Regions from separate parts of the Homo sapiens genome. Here regions 1, 3, 4, 5, 6 and 7 are each linked to region 2. Evidence: promoter capture Hi-C in human tissues and cell types (Jung and others, 2019). All regions are on one chromosome and are shown on one strand. Each heading gives the region's core, a stretch centred on a gene start or on the middle of the fragment in contact. The rest is flanking DNA. Distances are from core to core; before and after follow the strand shown.

Region 1 (2,700 bases), core at 104-2,603, 150 kb before region 2:
ATGTGTATTTGCCATTTGTATATCTTCTTTGGTGAGGTGTCTAGATCTTTTGCCTATTTTTTGGTTAGGTTGTTCCCTTATTGTTGAGTTTTAAGAATTCTTTCGCCAGTTGTGGTGGCTCACACCCGTAATCTGAGCACTTTGGGAGGCCGAGGCAGGCAGATCACTTGAGCTCAGGAGTTTGAGACCAGCTTGGGCGACATGGTGAGACCTCTTCTCTACAAAATAAAAAAAGAGTACAAAAATTAGCCCGGCATGGTGACACACGCCTGTAGTACCCGCTACTCAGGAGGCTAAGGCGGGAGGATCACTTTAGCCCAGGGGACAGAGGTTGCAGTGAGCTGATGTGTGCTACTGTACTGCACTCCAGCCTGGGTGGTAGAGCAAGACCCTATTTAAAAAAAAAAAAAGGAAAAAAGGCTGGGCGCAGTGGCTCATGCCTGTAATCCCAGCACTTTGGGAGGCTGAGGCGGGCGGATTACTTGAGGTCAGGAGTTCGAGACCAGCCTGGCCAACATGATAAAACCCCATCTCTACTAAAAATACAAAAATTAGCCGGGTGTGGTGGCAGGCGCCTGTAATCCCAGCTACTCGGGAGGCCGAGGCAGGAGAATCACTTGAACCTGGGAAGTGGAGGTGTCAGTGGGCCAAGATCACGCCACTGCACTCCAGCCTGGGCAACAGCAAGACGAAAGAGAAAGAGAGAAAGGGAGAAACAGAGGAGAGAAAACAAAGGAAGGAAGGGAAAGAAAGAAAAGAGAGAAGGAAAGAAAGAGAGAGAGAAAGAAAGAGAGGAAAGAAAGAAAGAAATCCTTGTATATTTAGGACTCAAATCCTTTATTGATGTTTTGTACGATTTAAAGATTCCTTTGGTGGTGGGACGCAATACAGTGACACTCAGCTAGAGGAGAGGCAGAAGCCTGTGTATTGATGTTTTATAAGATCTAAAGATTCTTTTGGTGGTGGGACGCAATACAGTGACACTCAGCTAGAGGACAGGCAGAAGCCTGTGTGACTTACAGCTCTAACAAGAGGCCGCCGCCAGGCAGGGTCACACGGGGGATTGTGCCTCGGACGTCAGTGGACTGGACACAGCCCAGGAGAGAATCTGCAAGCTGAGGACATGTCCATAGACTTCCCCAACTGAAATGCAAGGAGAAAAAAGAGTAAAAATAACTGAACAGAATATCCTAGAACTACGGGACAATTATAGAAGGTAATTTACACACTCATAATGGCAATACCAGAAGAGGAGAGGGAGAAAGGGATAGAAGAAATATTTGAAGTAATAATGGCTTCTCATTTTTCAAAATTGGTGTCAGACACCAAACCACAGATCTAGGAAGCTTAGAGAACACTAAGTACAACAAATGCCAAAAAATAGGAACTTTGGCATGTCGTATTCAAACTGCAGGAAACCAGAGACAGAATATCTTGAAAGATGTCGGAGGGAAAGTACCTTCCTATAGAGGAACAAGAATACGGATCACACTGGACTTCCATCAAAAATCATGTGATCTGGGTACTGGAAGCTACATGTAAAGAAGAAATTCATGCTCACGCCTGTAATCCCAGCACTTTGGGAGGCCGAGGCGGGCGGATCACGAGGTCAGGAGATCGAGATCATCCTGGCTAACACGGTGAAACCCCATCTCTACTGAAAATACAAAAAAATTAGCCAGGCGTGGCAGTGGGTGCCTATAGTCTCAGCTACTCGGGAGGCTGAGGCAGGAGAATGGCGTGAACCCGGGAGGCGGAGCTTGCAGTGAGCCGAGATCGTACCACTGGCACTCCAGCCTGGGCGACAGAGACTCGGTCTCAAAAAACAAAACAAAACAAAAACCCAAAAGAAGAGGCACCTGAGCCGCTTGCTTGAGCCTGCTCCCACTCTGAAATGTCTTCAGTAAATCTGTGCTTTCCTTGCTTCTCCTGTTGCTTTCTCTTTCATGGCTTGGCTCTTTTGTTACTTTGTGCATTTTGTTAAAGCATCCCCCGCTAACTAAGACACCGCTCAGGGTCGGGCACAGTGGCTCACACCTATAATCCCAGCACTTTGAGAGGCCGAGGCAGGTGGGTCACCTGAGGTCGGGAGTTCAAGATCAGTCTGACCAACACGGAGACCCCATCTCTACCAAAAATACAAAAAAAAAATTAGCTGGGCGTGGTGGCACATGCCTATAATCCCGGCTACTCAGAAGGTTGAGGCAGGAGAATCACTTGAACCCGGGAGGCGAGGGTTGCGGTGAGCCGAGATCACGCCATTGCACTCCAGCCTCTGCCCAACAAGAGCGAAACTCCGTCTCAAAAAAAAAAAAAAAAAGAAAGAAAGAAAAAAAAAAGAGACACCGCTCAAACTTCTGGCCAAACACAAATCCTGAATGACTTTTAACATCCTTTATGGTAATTAAGGAACCCTGTGGTGCTGGGAGGCAGTTGCTCAAACAACCTCTGGGCATGGTCTGCTGGCAAGGGCATTTCATTTGCCGCCAGGGTGTGGACGGACATTTATTTACACAGTCATACCTGAGACAGAGTAGGGACGGGCTGGCTCGGTTAACCCCCCACTAGAGCATTCTCTCATGCCTTCCACGGATCACACACCCCACGCCACTACCTGGCTTGACACCAAACTCGCTAACCCTGAGACTTTGGTCATACAAGGAAAACAGCCGTTTATAGTGCTCTTCTGTGCTCTTGTAA
Region 2 (2,700 bases), core at 41-2,540:
CCCATTTCTACAAAAAAAATTTTTTTTAAATTAGCCAGACATGGTGGTGTGTGCCTGTGGTCCCAGCTACTTGGGAGGCTGAGGTGGGAGGATCACTTGAGCCCTGGAGTTCAAGGCTTCAGCGAGCTATGATTGTACCACTGCACTCCAGGGTGGGCGACAGAGCAAGACCCTGTCTCAATAATAATAAAAATAAAAAAAAAAAAAAGGAAAAAAAGGGGCACAGTAGACAGTACCAGTACTTGGTATTTTAAATGGTTTTCAAATGAAGCCCACCCAAGCTCAGCAAGTCCAGCCGGGGCCTGAGGACCTGAGCAGGCGCCAGGTCACACAAGGTACCGGGCGCAGGAGGCGGAGCCCGCAGCGGGCCCTGCCCTGACAGCGGCACCTGCGCGGCCTCCGCAGGTTCTGGGATCGGCCGCTGGCCAGGTGCAAGGGAGGGGGGACGGCAGCCGCTGTCCTGGGGCTGAGAGGGCTCCGCGGTCTGGAGGGGACGGCGTCAGCGCCCGCGGGGGTTCGCAGGGCAGCCCCGGGGCGACCCCCACCCCCGCCACGGTCAAGTGTCGATACAGTGTTGCCAGCCGGGTGCCAACTATGAATAAGTCCAAGGGCGCGGCACGTGGGCCGAAACGCGATCCTTCCGCGGAGCCGCTGCGCGCAGGGCCGTCCCCACCGAGCCCGCCGCGCGGCGACCCCTGACGGCGACCCTAAGCCCCGGCCGACCAGGGCAGGAGCTCGCGCGCGAAACTTCCCCGGCGCCCGCAGGAGACCCCGGCAGGGGAGATGGCGGGGCCCAGGCAGAGCTCGGAGGCCCCTCCCGGCCCCACCCCGCGCCCCGGCCCCCTCTGCCCCCGACCCGGTCCGGGGGAGCCCTCGCGGGACCCCAGCCTGGTCCTTCGCCGCCTCCCCCCGTTCAGCCCCGACCCCCCTGATCCCCGCGCCCCCCGCGGTCCCGGCCCGCCCCCTCCCCCAGCCCGGGCCCCAGCCCCGTCCGTTAGCGGATCCCACGCAGGCTCCGCGCCCGGCCCCGCCGGCGCCCTCGGCCCACACCTCTCTCCGCGCGCGTGTCCCGCCGTGTCGCCCCCGTGTCCCCTCCGCGTCCCCCCCCGCGCCGTCCCCCCGCGTCCCCCCCCGCGTCCTTCCCCCGTGTCCCCCCAGCGTGTCCCTCGGCCGCCCCGCGCGCGCCGGCGGAACTGTGGGATCGCCGCGCACAGGAAGTGGCGGCGGCGGCGCGGCCGAGGGCGGAGGGCGGAGGGCGGCGGGATGGGGGCCGGGGGCGGCGGGCGCCGCACTCGCTGAGGCCCCGACGCAGGGCCGGGCCGGGCCCAGGGCCGAGGAGCGCGGCGGCCAGAGCGGGGCCGCGGAGGCGACGCCGGGGACGCCCGCGCGACGAGCAGGTGGCGGCGGCTGCAGGTGAGCACCGAGGCCCCCACCCGAGGTCGGGCCGCCCCCCTCTTCCCCCACGCCCCGCCGCCGCCCGAGGTCGCCCTCCCGCCGCCGGAGGTCGCCCCTGCCCCAGCCGTCCGACCTCGGGCCGCCCGGGGCCCCGCGCCGCAATGGGCCGGCCGCGCTCCGCGGGGCGCGGGGCCTGGGAAGGCGCGGGGCCGGGAGGAGGTCTGGGCCCGGGTCCTGTGCGCCCCCCGCAACCCCGGCCTCCCCGGCGGCCTGGTCCAGCGCGAGGCCCCGGCCGCTTCCCGCAGCAGCCTCGGTGGCGCTGGGCCCAGCGGGGAGGCCCGGGGGTTCGGGGCGCCCGGGAGGGGCCCGGGCCGGGCCGAGGGAGGGCGAGTGGGTTCCCGCGGGGACGTCCCATCCCTCCGTCCTGGACTCTGCTCCGGGCCCCGCTCGGCTCCCCCGTGGACAGGACGCGCCCGCCGCCTGGTTTCGGGGCGCGGCGGACCCGGGACCCCCCCCAGGGGCCTCCTCCTCGCGCGCCCAGGCCAAGGGAGCAGTTTCACTTTTGCCGCTCCGCGCGGGGAGGGCTGCGGGGCCCGGGGTTGGCTGTGGGTTCGGCCCGGAGACCGGCGGCGCGTTTGCACCGGGCGGGTCAGGGGATGGGGTCAGTCCGGGGGCAAGAGCCGTGGGGGCGAAAACCCACTCCTGGCCACCCCAGGACCCTTGGAACATTGGTCCCAAGTACTTAGGAAAGGAGGGTTATTAGTATTTGAAGGCAGTTAAAAATGGTGCAGTGTTTTTTTTTTTTTTTTTAACTTTGAGAGAAGTTTAGTGACATGGGGAAAATGCTTTTATAAATGGCTTCCCAGACCTTTAAAAAAAAAAAAGCACAATTTTAAAAGCTTTGTCTAGGAGAATACTTGAGCAGTTGGGTTCTTTTTCCTGGGAAACATGATCTTAGTAGAAGAAAGATGTGGGCTGTTGGCCTCCAGACAGAGGGTGATGAGCATGCGGCTCTTATTAAAAATGAAAGCCAACGCCGAGAGCCTGCTGGGGGCTGGGAGGTGGGGCGGGCGGCGGGCCCAGGCTGCTAGAGGGACCCAGGATCCTGCAGCTTTTAAATTGCAGGCGCGGCTGCTCCGACTCGACTCGCTTAGGAATTGCTGAACTTCGTCTTCTCAGTTTGAAAGCTTCAGAGGGGTCTCCCGAGGATGCTGAGCACTCTCTTGATTTGGCCACTTCTTTGCCGCCCCCCCTCCCTCTTTCCAACCAATCCTCCTCCCCCACAGAGTTCGGCGTTAGCCTGTG
Region 3 (2,700 bases), core at 197-2,696, 180 kb after region 2:
CTTGATTAAATTAGCTAGTTCGATTTTTTCCCTCCAGAGAACCAGGATTTTAATGTATTCATCTGATTTATCGTTAGTCTGTTTTCTACTCAAGTTTCTACTTTCATTTGTATTATTTTCTTCTTTTTGTTTTCTCATGGTTTACTTTGTTCATTTTTTAGTTTTCGGGCGTTTGAAATGCATTTATTTTCATTCTTAAATTTTTATTGATATAGGTCTTTAAAGTTAGGAATTTTTCTCTGGTTACTACTTTAAATATATCCCATTGTTTTATCATTATTTTTCAGAAATTCTCTATTTTTGATTTGTATTTCACCCTTTCATTAAATAGTTGTTTAACAGAAAGCTTTTTAGCTTACAGAAAAAAAAAGATTAAAAAAATTTTGTTTAGAAATTTCTAGCTTTATTGCATTGTGTTCAGAAAGTGTTTATATTTTTGCTTTATGAAACTTATTTTTAAAATTTTATGAATTTGACTGTTGTGTGACCTAATAAATGATCAGTTTTTTTGGACATTTCATGTGTGTTTGAGAATGTATTTTCTGTTTCCAGATTGTAATGTTAAATATCCACAAGACCTATCTTACTGCTTGTGTTGTTTAGGTCATTTATATTTTGAATTTTGTCCATTTGACCTATCTTTAACTGACAGTGGTATGGTAAAGTCTTCTGTTAGTGGTGTGTTTCTGTTTCTCTTGCATCTCCTGTAGTTTCTGTTTTGTATAGGTGGTTGATGTATTATTTGGTGCTTAGGTGTTTACAACTTACAGTTTTTATGGAGTGAAATATGTCATTTACAGAATGGCTTCTGGGCAGTGTATCTTGCTTAGGGAGGCCTTGTCTGTCTGAAGAGAACTGATTTTCTGTATTTTATTTTAATAATTTTGTAATTTATGTCTTATATTGGGACCCGTATAGCTTCAAATTATTTATATATATTAGGAGCTCTGGGAGTTGAGGGTCTAATTTTACTGTCTGAATGCATAGCAAATTGGCCTAACACCATTTCATAATAGTGTGTCTTTTCTCCACTTACTGGGAATGTCACCTGTATTTTAAACCAACATCCTGTATGCACAATATTCTAGACACTTTGGTTCTATTGATCATTGTCTATCCTGTGCCAGAATCAGACTTTTAATTATTACGCTTTTTTTTTTTTTTTTTTTTTTGGGATGGAGTCTTACCCTGTTGCCCAGGCTGGAGTGCAGTGGCTTGATCTTGGCTCACTGCAACCTTTACCTCCCGGGTTCAAGCGATTCTTCTGTCCCAGTCTCCTGAGTAGCTGGGACTACAGGCGCCCACCACCACCCCTGGCTAATTTTTGTATTATTAGTGGAGACGGGGTTTCACCATATTGGCCAGGCTGGTCTCAAACTCCTGACCTCGTGATCCACCCGCCTCGGCATCCCAAAGTGCTGGGATTGCAAGCGTGAGCCACCGTGCCTGGCCTATTACACTTTTATAATATGTATCAATATCTTTCTTTTAAAATAAACCTTGTGGCCATCTACATTTTCCCTTCCACATGTCGAGTGTCCAAATTTATTTTCTGAAGATGGCTGTAGCAGCATACCCATCCCACATGCTCCTCTCTATGTGACAGTGACTTTCCCTTGTTGAAAGGCTGGGCCTGTGTTTCCTCCAGTTGAATCTGGGTGGGCCTCTGACTGTGGCAGAAGCAACACTGTGATACTTGAGAGGAAGTCCTAAAAGATAACGTGCCTTCTGCTGGATTCTCTCGGGGTGCTTGTTCTTAGATTCCAGCCACCATGCTGTGGGGAAGCCAAGCAGCCCCGTGGGAAGGCCACTCGCAGGTGTTCAGCCTGCCCCAGCTGAGTCCCACTGTGTGTTTTAGCTCCCAGCCTCAACACGCCACTGACACCAGGTGGAGCAGAGACCTTGGTTCCCACCAAATCCTCTCTCAGTTGTAGATCCGTGAGCAAAAGAAAGTTTTACACCACTATAGCTTGGAGTGGCCTGTTACACAGCAGTAGATAACTGGAATATCAGTTGAAAAAGAGAAGGCTGGAGGCATTTTGATTGGGATTGCCTTGAATAAGTTGTTAATTCATTTGAGAAGAATTTTAATCATGAGTCTTCTTGAATCAGGGAATGTGGTATGTATGTTTTTCCATTCTTTATGACTTTTTTCTGCCCTTATTTTTCGTAAAAGTTTTACATTTTTATTGTTAGCTTTAGCTTTTGTGGCCATTTTGAATGAGACTTTTTTCCTTAAAATTACATTCTAATAGCCTTTTTTTTTTCAAATCTTGATTATCGTCTATTTAAAAAAAGGAGTAAGTTGATAATATTGAGGATTTTAGATTTAAAGTAAAACTCTGTTATGTTGAATAGTTGCTTTAGGACTTATAGAGTACATCTGTAACAGCATAATTCTTCCTTCAAGTAATATGAATTATATTACTTGATGCGTGATATAAGAACTTTGGATCATTGACTTCTGTTTTCTCCCTCCCAGCCTTTGTTATTGTTGTCATACATTTTCTATACTTGTTAAAACCCCATAGTACATTGTTACTATTTTTTGCCTTAAACAGTCTGTTATGCCTTGGAGAGATTAAAATAGAAAATCATGTCTTTTTTTTTTTTTTTTTTTTTTTGAGACAGAGTTTCGCTCTTGTCCAGGCTGGAGTGCAGTGGGGTGATCTCAGCTCACTGCAACCTCCGCCTCCCAGG
Region 4 (2,700 bases), core at 132-2,631, 190 kb after region 2:
TAGACAGGGAAGTCCAAGGGCGGAGCCCTGCGGCCTCCAGCAGAGAGCCTCGGGGAGCGAGAGGAACCAGCCGTCTGACCAGAGGGAGCCACAGTGAGGGGCGAGGGGAGCAGGTGGCCAGGTCCTGGACAGCAGGAAACATCCCAAGGACAGGGGGGTGACCAGTTATATCTGGTGCTGCCGATAGGTCGGGGAGGGTTCAGAAATTACCTTAGCTTTTCCTAGCTTCTTGTGCATGCGTGAATGTTGACATATGCGGTCGTCACATTGGTTGTTACTTAGCGGAGCGTAGACATTATTCATAGTGCTGCGTGCCTTTCTCTGTCGTTTAATGGCTACATACTGTTTCTTCTATACATTGATTTATGTTTTTGTTTTTTTAAAAAACGTATCTTGGGCGAATAGGAGGAGCTTGCCTTTGTTTTCGAGATGCTGCAGCAGTTCGAGGACGCCCTGGTGCAGTACGACGAACTGGACGCCCTCTTCTCTCAGTATGTGGTCAACTTCGGGGCCGGGGGTGAGTAGTGGCACTTCAGTAACGCATGCTTTTCTTAGTGTGGCTTTCTCCAACTTCAGATAGGCTTGAAGCAGCCATTTATTTACCTCAGGAGTACGCATGTTTTGTTGTTGTCTTTATACACATTATATCGGATATATTCTCGTGATTCCTAGAGGAAATGAAATGAGAATTAAGAATTAGTCATTTTCACTTTTAGAAGAATCTTAAGTAACAAAAATAATAATAATTTAAAAAAACTGTTTTCCAGGTATAAAATGTCCTTTCCACAACTCAGTGGCCTGCTGGTGATGCTTCGATTCTGTCCCTCGTTAGAATCAGAGTGGACGTCCCTTTGCCTTCCATCCAGGGGTTATCTTTGGAATGCTCGAGTGCTCATTGCTGTGAACTTATAAAATGCCCTTGGGTGTTCATCTTTCTTTTGCACTTTTAAATAATATCTTAAGCTCCTTTACAATTAAAGAATTAGCACAGTGAAACCATACACAGAGAGAAACATTGGTTATTGTCCTCAGTGTTTTTCGCTGATACTTATTTTGATGAAAGTGATACCACGTTATATAGCTGTTTCTCTGTCGCTCCTTTTTGTTACTCACAGCCCATCCTGGGCATCTCTCCAGGTTAGCAGGTGGGGTTTGGAGTTGTTTTTGTTACAATTGGTATTCCTGGCTTGATTCCATTACCTGGTGTTGGACATTGGGTTCTTTTATGCTTCTTGCCACCACAAGCAGTGCTGTAGTGGGCATCTCTGCCAGGTGTTCTTTTTGAGAACCCTTGTCACCATGTGTGAAGGAAGGAGTAATTTTGAGGAGCCCTGGTGTCAGCAGGAGAACCTGGAGGGAGATGAAGTGTGGGGACGGTCAGTTCTAGCTGTGAGCACTGTCCTCACTCTGGAACTCATCAGTGGCGCCGATGGATACTGGCTCATAGTGCTTCTGAAGATCAGGTCTGGATATCTCACTCTCCTGAGATGCCAGTATAGACACAGAACCAAAGCAAAGTGTTTACTAAGTAAAAAAATAAAATAAAAAAACACTTCTATTTCTTATATTTTATGTGTCTTTTTTTTTTTTTTTTTTGAAATGGAGTCTTGCACTGTTGCCCAGGCTGGAGTGCAGTGGCACAATCTCGGCTCACTGCAAGCTTTGCCTCCCGGGTTCATGCCATTCATGCCATTCTCCTGCCTCAGCAGTGGGACTGGGACTACAGGCGCCTGCCACCACGCCTGGCTAATGTTTTGTATTTTTAGTAGAGACGGGTTTTCACCATGTTAGCCAGGATGGTCTCGATCTCCTGACCTCGTGATCCGCCTCAGCCTCCCAAAGTGCTGGGATTGCAGGTGTGAGCCACCATGCCCGGCCTTATGTGTCCATATTATACAAACATATCTATTTATTTATTTTTGAGACAGTGTCTCACTCTGTCCCCCAGGCTGGAGGGCAGTGGTGTGATCTTGGCCCACTGCAACCTCTGCCTCCAGGGTTCAAGCGATTTTCGTGCCTAAGCCTCCTGAGTAGCTGGGATTACAGGTGCATGCCACCATACCTGGCTAATTTCTATATTTTTAGTAGAAACGGGGTTTCACCATGTTGGCCAGGCTGGTCTCGAACTCCTGGCCCCAAGTGATCCTCTTGCCTCGGCTTCCCAAAGTGCTGGGATTATAGTTGTGAGCCACCATGCCCAGCCTATACATACATACATACACACACACACACACACACACACACACACACTTTTTTTTTGAGACGGAGTCTTGCTTTGTTGCCAGGCTGGAGTGCAGTGGTGTGATCTTGGCTCACTGCAACCTTCTCCTCCTGATTTCAAGCGATTCTCTTGCCTCAGCCTCCCAAATAGCTGGGACTACAGGTGCGCACCACCACGCCCAGCTAATTTATTTATTTATTTTAATTTTAATTTAATTTAATTTTATTTTATTTTTTGAGACGGAGTCTTGCTCTGTAGCCCAGGCTGGAGTGCAGTGGCGCCATCTCGGCTCACTGCAACCTCCGCCTCCCGGGTTCACGCCATTCTCCTGCCTCAGCCTCCTGAGTAGCTGCGACTACAGGTGCCCGCCACCAAGCCCGGCTAATTTTTTTTTGTATTTTTAGTAGAGACGGGGTTTCACCGTGTTAGCCAGGATGGTCTCGATCTCCTCGTGATCTGCCCACCTCAGCCTCCCAAAG
Region 5 (2,700 bases), core at 22-2,521, 160 kb after region 2:
TTTTTTTTTTTTTGAGACAGAGTCTTGCTCTGTCGCCCATGCTGGAGTGCAGTGGCTCCATCTTGGCTCACTGCAAGTTCCACCTCCCGGGTTCACGCCATTCCCCTGCCTCAGCCTCCCGAGTAGCTGGGACTACAGGTGCCCGCCACCACGCCGGGCTAATTTTTTGTATTTTTAGTAGAGATGGGGTTTCACCGTGTTAGCCAGGATGGTCTCGATCTCCTGACCTCGTCGTGATCCTCCCGCCTCAGCCTCCCAAAGTGCTGGGATTACAGATGTGAGCCACCGCGCCCGGCCTATGTAACCATTTTCAAAGTGAGTTGGTTCACTGGCATCTTTCAGAGGTGATCGGTTGGCGTGTTTTTGTTGTTCGTTTAGTATGGCTGTGAACTTAATCATTATGAACATACTTGATGTGTTACAGTCCATTGCATTGTTGCCTCGTTGGTGAGCAGGTTGTTCTCCCTTTGGCCAGGGAGAGTCTCTTTCATGTTGGGGTCTAAGATAGAGGCATCTTTGTCAGATTCTTTCCTATCTAGCCTGACAAGATGTTCCGGGCTCATTTTGAACATTTAATGCCCTGATCTGCACTTAGCAATTGCCAAGGAGCCCTGATTCCTTTTAGTGAAAAATAGTATTTCAAGACCATAGTCTGCAAGCTTGGGCTCCTAGTTGCTGTGAGGCCTTTTCAATAGGCAGAGCTAGGAATAGCTAGGCATTTTTGTTTGTTTGTTTTTTGTTTTTGTTTTGTTTTGTTTTGAGACAGGCTCTTACTCTGTTGCCCATGCTGTAGTGCAATGGCACGATCTCAGCCCACTGCAACCTCTGCCTCTCAGGTTCAAGAGATTCTTGTGCCTCAGCCTCCCGAGTAGTGAGTAGCTGGGATTACAGGTGCATGCCATCACATCTGGCTAATTTTTATATTTTTAGTAGAGACAGGGTTTCACCGTGTTGGCCAAGCTGGTCTCAAATTCCCGACCTCAGGTGATCCACCCACCTTGGCCTCCCAAAGCATTGGGATTACAGGCGTGAGCCACCGCACCAGCCTAGGAATTGTTCTTTGTTTTTTGTATTTTTAAGATAAAATACATCATAAGTTCACTCTTTTTGATGAAAACTCAGGGCTGCAGGGTTTTAATTAACAGCTCCATCCTCTGTGTTTTCTCTTTTCCACACTGAAAATCCTAATTCTCATGGGTACTTGAGGAGGCTAGAGTTAGAGGTTCCCCAGCTCATGCTGCTTCAGTCACCTGGAGGGCTTGTGGACACACAGATGGCTGGGTCCATTCCCCATTTCTGATTGAACAGGTCTGGGTGGGGCCTGAGAATGAGCATTTCTAACAAATGCCCAGGTGGTGCTGATGCTGAAGGGCCAGGGGCCACTGAATAGAACATCACACGATTGCTCACTTGCTTTCAGTTGCTTTATCCCTCATTACATAGACTCTGAATAACACTATTAACTCCACCATCAACAACAGGACTAGTGAACACAGGTCTAGAACTGTTTTTGACAGTTCTTATTGGCATTTGGATGTATCCCATAAGGAATGAACAGTCAAATTACTGTAGTTTTAAAGTTACTTGTCATAGCTCCTCTCTCTGAGATTATACCACTAAATGTATATGTATACATTTAAGTTCACTTGTTTTATTTTTCCTGATTATTTTTAGGGAAAACCTTGAAAAAATCTAATTGCTTTATAACTATATAAAATATTTACTTCCAAAATTAAATCTACAAAATGAGGTCTATTTAAAGAAGCCTTGTGTATGTTCTGTCCTCTCCATGCTAACTCCTCCCTTCCTGAGTACTCCATCACAGTTTTTATGGTTTTCCTTCCACGTGAAAAACATCCAAACATATTTGTATTTCCCTTTCTTAGCTTAGACATTGCCAGCTGCACACACTGTCCCACCTCACTTTCCCCCGGACTCCACTCCACGCTAGGAGTATGTTGAGATCATTCTCATTCCATGATGTCGATATTCCGTGGTTTATTCTGCCAGTCCCCTCCTGGTGGAATTTGAGTTGTTTTGTGTTTTACTGTTTCCAGTAGTTGTGCACAGATAGCCTGTCTGTGGCCTTTCCGACGGGCCTGTTGGGATGGAGCCCTGCAGGGCGGGTTGCTGGGCTGAGGCAAATGGTTATGTCACTGTGCTGATGCTGCCTCAGCTCCCTCCTGAGTGCTTGCACCATTGGGAAACTGCCTGTAGGCCTCGCTGAGAAGCCAGCCCTTGAACAAAGCCAGTGGCAAAGGGGAAGTCTGGGGAAAGACCAGTTTGGGAACCCTTCTGTCTAAAGCCTTAAGGCATTGGGGTGCCAGGAACAGGAGTGTCTCTTTTTAACTTGTAAATACAGTACTGTGGTTCAAACTGCTACAGTAATGCTGTGTTTATTTAAAAAATGTATACACTGTTAAAGGCTGATTCCTCAGTATTCTTATATTCAGATGCATTTATCCAGTCTTTTTGTTTTTAAACTCTTGAATTTTAAGTTTGCTCTCTGAGGGCTAGAGAAGGCAACTTGTTTCCTTGATTAGAAGAGTTCATTCAACTTCTTAACATTCTTGGCCTGTGTGTTCTTGTCTTTTAAGTTAAAACAGAAAAAGACTGGGACTTTCTGTCTTTTGACTAGTCTTTACGTGTAGTAGTTCCTTTTCTGCAAATTTCCACAGTAGGAAACTTGATGAACACTAA
Region 6 (2,700 bases), core at 41-2,540, 210 kb after region 2:
ACCTAACTCAGAAGATCTCAACAGGACAGTTGACCTTTTGGCAGGTTTGGGAGCTGAGCGACCAGAAACAGGTACTTTTTTGTATATACCTGTGTGAGTGGTGAGGTGGACAGTAATGAAAATGTCCTTTGCAAGTTGGCACATTTAACCGAAGTTCTAAGAGTAATCATATTACTCACCATTTGGAAAATTATACCCATTGTTAGCTGACTGGATTAAAGCACATGATAGTTTACCTTTTAACAGCATAATGCAATATTAGAAATAGTTGAAGAAATTGGAAGGAGTTTCAGAAATGTAGCTGAGTTTCTCCTGGGCTTAAGGGACTTTATAGCTCATGTTCAAATGCACCACTGTCTCTCTGAATTACAGATGATCTGTTTTTCTAACAATACGACCTGACGATTTTTTTTTTTTTTAAGAGACAGGGTCTCACTCTGTTGCCCAGACTGGAGTGTAGTGGCACAATCTTGGCTCACTGCAGCCTCGACCTCCTGGGCTCAAGGGATCCTCTTGCCTCACCCTCCCAGGTAGCTGGGACTACAGGTGTGTGCTACCATACTTGGCTAATTTTTTAATTTTTTGTAGAGATGGAGTCTCGCTGTATTGCCCAGGCTGGTCTCAAACTCCTGGCCTAAAGTGATCCTCCTGCCCTGGCCTCCCAGCAAATTTTTTAAAATAAATTGGCTGGGCACGGTGGCTCCCACCTGTAATCCCAGCACTTTGGGAGGCCGAGGTGGGCGGATCACCTGAGGTCAGGAATTCGAGACCAGCCTGACCAACATGGAGAAACCCCATCTCTACTAAAAATACAAAATTAGCCGGGTGTGGTGGTGCATGCCTGTAATCCCAGCTATTCGGGAGGCTGAGGCAGGAGAATCGCTTGAACCTGGGAGGTGGAGGTTGTGGTGAACAAAGATTGCTCCATTGCACTCCAGCCTGGGCAACAAGAGCAAAACTCTGTCAAAAAAAAAAAAAAATTCTCCTGGATAATAAGGCTCTTTGAAAGGAGGATTACTCATTGTTTTACGTAGGAATATATGATGAGTATTATTTAGCAAGACTGTTGCTAAAGAATATCTGATGAGCTGAAAACATTCTTAGTAAATTGAATAAATGTTTAAGGGAAAAAATACGTAGTATTTATATTTCATTGTTTCAACTTGAGACCATTTCAGATCACTTCGGAAGTAATTTAATTCATCGGAGTATTTGTAATATATGTTTCTAAAAAAGTTTAGTTCTAAAGATCAGAGAAAAAGCATGACACAAAGCGTTTTGACTATTTTATGAATATGTGAATTGAAAGAGAATGTACATAATCATGTAGTTTCCGTTGGCATTGGCCGGTTTGTAATTTCACAAGAGTCAGATGAGGTCATCTACCTGCAGTATGTGAAGGTGAATGTAAAGTCATGTGACTGGACATGATGAAGATGAAGAGGGACTCTCGTTTCTTTCTGTTTAAGCCAACACAGCTCAGAGTCCTTATAAGAAACTGAAAGAAGCATTATCGTCAGTGGAAGCTTTTGAAAAACACTACTTAGTAAGTATTAACAAGTGTTCAATGTCTGTTCTGTGAATACCTGTCTCTAGAAGGCTTTGCTACATGGCCTGTTGAGTTGGGAAGGAACTGGTGTGGGGGGCCCCTTCTTGTTGGTTTTTTTTAGTTTCTTTGGTACCTGGGGAGTTGTGGACAAAACATGGAGTAGTTCATCAAATGTGTATTAGTGCCCATGGTACCATGCTAGGCATGGAATCATCTTTGAATATTTACCGTTTTGTTCAAATTGGGTTTGCTCACACAGAAATTATAAGAGAGGCTAGTGAATACTTTTCTTTGTAAAAAGGAGTAATTTGGACTTGGGCAGAGCTATTGTATTTGATTTTGAAAGACTTAAATTAGCAAAACTTTAAAAAACGGCGTAGGCAGAAGTGTGGTGGGTCAGCGTCATTCCCGGGTCATGGGCAACTTGAGCGTTTGGTCTGCCCGTAATGGCTGTACCTCTTATACACACAAGTATGAAAAATACCCAGCATGTCACCCACGTGCAGAAAGTCCTTGGAAAAGTTAGATGTTTTGGATGAGTTTGTGGGTTTCTTTTATTATTATGCTTCATAATTTATACACAGGTTACCAATTTTGCTTATATATTACAGAAAAATTCACAAAAATAGATGCAAAGGAAAAAATAATGTTACATTATTAGCAATGTCTTCTGCGGGCTGGGCATGGTGGCTCACGCCTGTAATTCAGCACTTTGGGAGGCTGAGGCAGGTGGATCACTTGAGGTCAGGAGTTTGAGACCAGCCTAGCCAACATGGTGAAATCCTGTCTCTGCTAAAGATACAAAAAATTAGCCGGGCCTGGTGGCGCCTGTAGTCCCAGCTACTTGGGAAGCTGAGGCACAAGAATCACTTCAACCTATGAGGCGGAGGTTGCAGTGAGCTGAGATCTCACCGCTGTGCTCCAGCCTGGGCGATGGAGCAAGACTCTGTCTCAAAACAAAAACCCAACAATGTCTTTTGTGTGAGCTTTAGGTGAATAAATGTAGTATTTGTCCATCATTAAAAGTTCAAGTACATAATTGTGTTTTTACTTCCCCACAGGATTTGTCCCATGCCACCATTGAAATGTATACAAGCATTGGGAGGATTCGATCTGCTAAGTTTGTTGGAAAAGATCTGGCAGAGTTTTAC
Region 7 (2,700 bases), core at 156-2,655, 250 kb after region 2:
TATCTGCAGCATCTCCGCGGGATTCCTGTAGCCCCTTATTTTCCATTTTTCTAGCAACAGTGTTACATGGGTGCACTGTCATGGTGGTTAATTCCTGTTGGGCACTTAGCTTGCTTCTGGTATTTTGATGTCACACTGAGGCGGAATAATCCTCTCATCATATCATCCTGGAAGCAGAATTGATGTATCCAAAGCCCATTTTTAAGGCTTTTAATGCATTTCACTAGAGTTCCTCCAGGGACAACGTCATTTCTTTTTCTTTTTTTTTTTGAGACAGAGTCTTGCTCTGTCACCTAGGCTGGAGTGCAGTGGTGCGGTCCCAGCTCACTGCAACCTCTGCCTCCCAGGTTCAAGCGATTCTCCTGCGTCAGCCTCTTGAGTAGCTGGTATTACAGGCGCCCACCACCACGCCTGGCTAATTTTTTGGGTTTTTTTGTTTGTTTGTTTGTTTTGAGGCAGAGTCTTGCCCTGTCGCCCAGGCTGGAGTGCAGTGGTGCAACCTTGGCTCACTGCAAGCTACACCTCCCGGGTTTACGCCATTCTCCTGCCTCAGCCTCCTGAATAGCCGGGACTACAGGCGCCCGCCACCACACCCGGCTAATTTTTTGTATTTTTAGTAAAGACGGGGTTTCACCGTGTTAGTGAGGATGGTCTCAATCTCCTGACCTCGTGATCCGCCCGCCTTGGCCTCTCAAAGTGCCGGGATTACAGGTGTGAGCCACCGCGCCTGTCCAATTTTTTGTTTTTTGTTTTTATAGTAGAGACGGGGTTTCACCATGTTGACCAGGCAGGTCTCGTACTCCTGACCTTATGATATGCCCGCCTTGGCCTCCCAAAGCACTAGGATTATAGGCGTGAGCCACCGTGCCCGGCCAACAATGTCATTTCTTTTTCAGGAGTGGGGGGTATCCACAGATGAGCTCTGGCTTGTGGGGTCCAGTAAGATTGGAGGCGCTACTTGGGGAGGGTGAGCCGCTGGTCCCAGGCCAGGCCTGGCCTGTCTCCCTCATGTGACTTGAGGACCAACAGCACACTGTGGTTTTTGTCTTTATCAGCAACAAATCTGACACGCTGCCCCTGGCCACTCGGTACAACGTCAAGTGCGTGGGGCTGTCCCCGGATGGCCGCCTCGCTATCATCGTCGATGAAGGTACTTGCCCTTGATGTGGGCGGGTACTGAGGGGACCAGTGAGGAGGACTCAGGGCTGTGTGGGTCTGAAATGATCCGCTCCCCAGTCGCCTCCGTGTTGGGGCCCGGGTGGGGATTGGGGATGAGGGTGTCATGGGCGAGGCTGCGTCCCCGCCGCAGGCTGTGTCTGTGGCATCACCTGTGGCAGGGCAGGGCCTCATGGCCCTTGGGCATTCTCAGTCCTGACTCCTCACAGTGGACGCGAGAAAGACCTTTCTCCGTTTTTCCCGTGCTATGTATCTGGGGTGGCCCCTGGGGTAGCTGCGCGGTGGTGACCTCTGGCGTCCTGCAGGGGGCGATGCGCTGCTGGTCAGCCTGGTCTGCAGGTCTGTGCTGCACCACTTCCACTTCAAGGGCTCTGTGCACAGTGTGTCCTTCTCCCCTGATGGCAGGTAAGGGGGACAGCTTGGGGGCAGGAGGGTTCGGCCGTGCATGCCGACGGTGAGGCCCACTGCCCAGCTCGTTTCCCTGGGCCCCGGGTTGTGACGTTGGGTTGGGCACACGGCCCAAGCTCTGGCATTGGTGACCCCCTTTTCTGGAGGAGAAGGCTTGGTGCGGCCAGGCTGCCCTCCCTCCAGGGCTGTTTCTTCCCTGACTTTTGCTTCCTCTGCTCCTTGGCCTCCATCCTGCAGGAGGCGGGACTCCAGAAGGCCCAGGTGGGTGCAGGCTGAGACTCCACAGTGGCCTTAGGGCCATTGCTGGTCTTGAATATCAACTATGTCCGCGTTCCTTCCATAGGAAGTTTGTTGTCACAAAGGGTAACATTGCCCAGATGTATCATGCCCCTGGGAAGAAGCGGGAGTTCAACGCCTTCGTTCTGGACAAGACCTATTTTGGGCCCTACGATGAGACCACCTGCATCGACTGGACGGATGACTCCAGGTGCGGCCTCAGAGGCTTCGGGGGAGCGGGGCTTGAGAGAGGCCCCTTGGACAGGTCACCCCCTTGGGCCCTGCAGCTTCGTTCCGCAATGGCATCTCGGCCTCCTTTGGGGCTGGGCGCTGCCCACACCATCAGGACTGGCTGGGTGGCTGTGGTCGAGTCTTTGCGGCTCTGAAGTGTGTGCTGTGGCCGAGCCTCCTGCCCCTGCACTGCCCTTTCACCTGTTTGTCCCAGAAACTGGGAATGCTGTGGTTGGCTCGGGCAGCGTCTGGGAGGAGTTAGGAAGGCAGACAGGGCAGGGACAGCGTCTGGGAGGTGTGAGGAAGGCAGACAGGGCAGGGGCTGTGCCGGGGTGTCTTCCTGTGCCTGGAGGCGTCTCAGCTCACTCTGAGACCACGTGGGGCTGTAGCGGTCTCCGTGCAGCCCTCTGGAGCTTGCACCTGGCTGCTTTGTTATGGCCAAGCCCTGAGGAGGTGCCATCTCCCTCTTTTCCAGGTGCTTTGTGGTTGGGAGCAAAGACATGTCCACCTGGGTGTTCGGAGCCGAGCGCTGGGACAACCTCATCTACTATGCACTGGGGGGACATAAGGATGCCATCGTGGCCTGCTTCTTTGAATCCAACAGCCTGG

Evidence for each region. The method cuts DNA at HindIII sites, captures the fragments that hold promoters and counts their contacts. A contact is called where the count stands out against the background at its distance.
Region 1: a contact is called between a fragment that was not itself captured here and the fragment with the promoter of AGPAT3 in region 2, in 2 of the 25 tissues and cell types used here (dorsolateral prefrontal cortex and spleen).
Region 3: a contact is called between a fragment that was not itself captured here and the fragment with the promoter of AGPAT3 in region 2, in 1 of the 25 tissues and cell types used here (dorsolateral prefrontal cortex).
Region 4: a fragment that was not itself captured here is called in contact with the fragment with the promoter of AGPAT3 in region 2 in 1 of the 25 tissues and cell types used here (dorsolateral prefrontal cortex).
Region 5: a fragment that was not itself captured here is called in contact with the fragment with the promoter of AGPAT3 in region 2 in 1 of the 25 tissues and cell types used here (lymphoblastoid cells).
Region 6: a fragment that was not itself captured here is called in contact with the fragment with the promoter of AGPAT3 in region 2 in 1 of the 25 tissues and cell types used here (dorsolateral prefrontal cortex).
Region 7: a contact is called between a fragment that was not itself captured here and the fragment with the promoter of AGPAT3 in region 2, in 6 of the 25 tissues and cell types used here (IMR-90 fibroblasts, dorsolateral prefrontal cortex, hippocampus and 3 more).

What each region holds. Positions count from the first base shown.
Region 1 is chr21:43,709,896-43,712,595 of GRCh38, forward strand. It overlaps LOC124905031 (a long non-coding RNA gene), which reads right to left and starts at 2,380. Exons shown (of 2, transcript XR_007067895.1): 1 at 1,460-2,380; 2 at 821-1,143. RefSeq lists enhancers at 1,246-2,127, 2,193-2,700. The HindIII fragment of the contact is 7,963 bases long and covers 1-2,700 here.
Region 2 is chr21:43,863,933-43,866,632 of GRCh38, forward strand. It overlaps AGPAT3 (1-acylglycerol-3-phosphate O-acyltransferase 3), which reads left to right and starts at 1,291. Exons shown (of 10, transcript NM_020132.5): 1 at 1,291-1,413. RefSeq lists silencers at 350-709, 1,260-1,609, 1,730-2,049. The HindIII fragment of the contact is 11,781 bases long and covers 1-2,700 here.
Region 3 is chr21:44,042,060-44,044,759 of GRCh38, forward strand. The region is part of intron 3 of TRAPPC10 (trafficking protein particle complex subunit 10); the gene reads left to right. Among named protein-coding and RNA genes, the nearest start is that of TRAPPC10, 31 kb to the left of the region's middle. The HindIII fragment of the contact is 7,203 bases long and covers 1-2,700 here.
Region 4 is chr21:44,058,698-44,061,397 of GRCh38, forward strand. TRAPPC10 (trafficking protein particle complex subunit 10) reads left to right here. Exons shown (of 23, transcript NM_003274.5): 6 at 406-517. Among named protein-coding and RNA genes, the nearest start is that of PWP2, 47 kb to the right of the region's middle. The HindIII fragment of the contact is 7,991 bases long and covers 1-2,700 here.
Region 5 is chr21:44,023,038-44,025,737 of GRCh38, forward strand. The region is part of intron 1 of TRAPPC10 (trafficking protein particle complex subunit 10); the gene reads left to right. Among named protein-coding and RNA genes, the nearest start is that of TRAPPC10, 12 kb to the left of the region's middle. The HindIII fragment of the contact is 6,881 bases long and covers 1-2,700 here.
Region 6 is chr21:44,075,083-44,077,782 of GRCh38, forward strand. TRAPPC10 (trafficking protein particle complex subunit 10) reads left to right here. Exons shown (of 23, transcript NM_003274.5): 9 at 1-71; 10 at 1,470-1,546; 11 at 2,611-2,700. Among named protein-coding and RNA genes, the nearest start is that of PWP2, 31 kb to the right of the region's middle. The HindIII fragment of the contact is 7,831 bases long and covers 1-2,700 here.
Region 7 is chr21:44,112,698-44,115,397 of GRCh38, forward strand. It overlaps PWP2 (PWP2 small subunit processome component), which reads left to right. Exons shown (of 21, transcript NM_005049.3): 3 at 1,056-1,150; 4 at 1,482-1,581; 5 at 1,928-2,071; 6 at 2,567-2,700. Among named protein-coding and RNA genes, the nearest start is that of PWP2, 6.6 kb to the left of the region's middle. RefSeq lists an enhancer at 1,291-1,585. The HindIII fragment of the contact is 8,457 bases long and covers 1-2,700 here.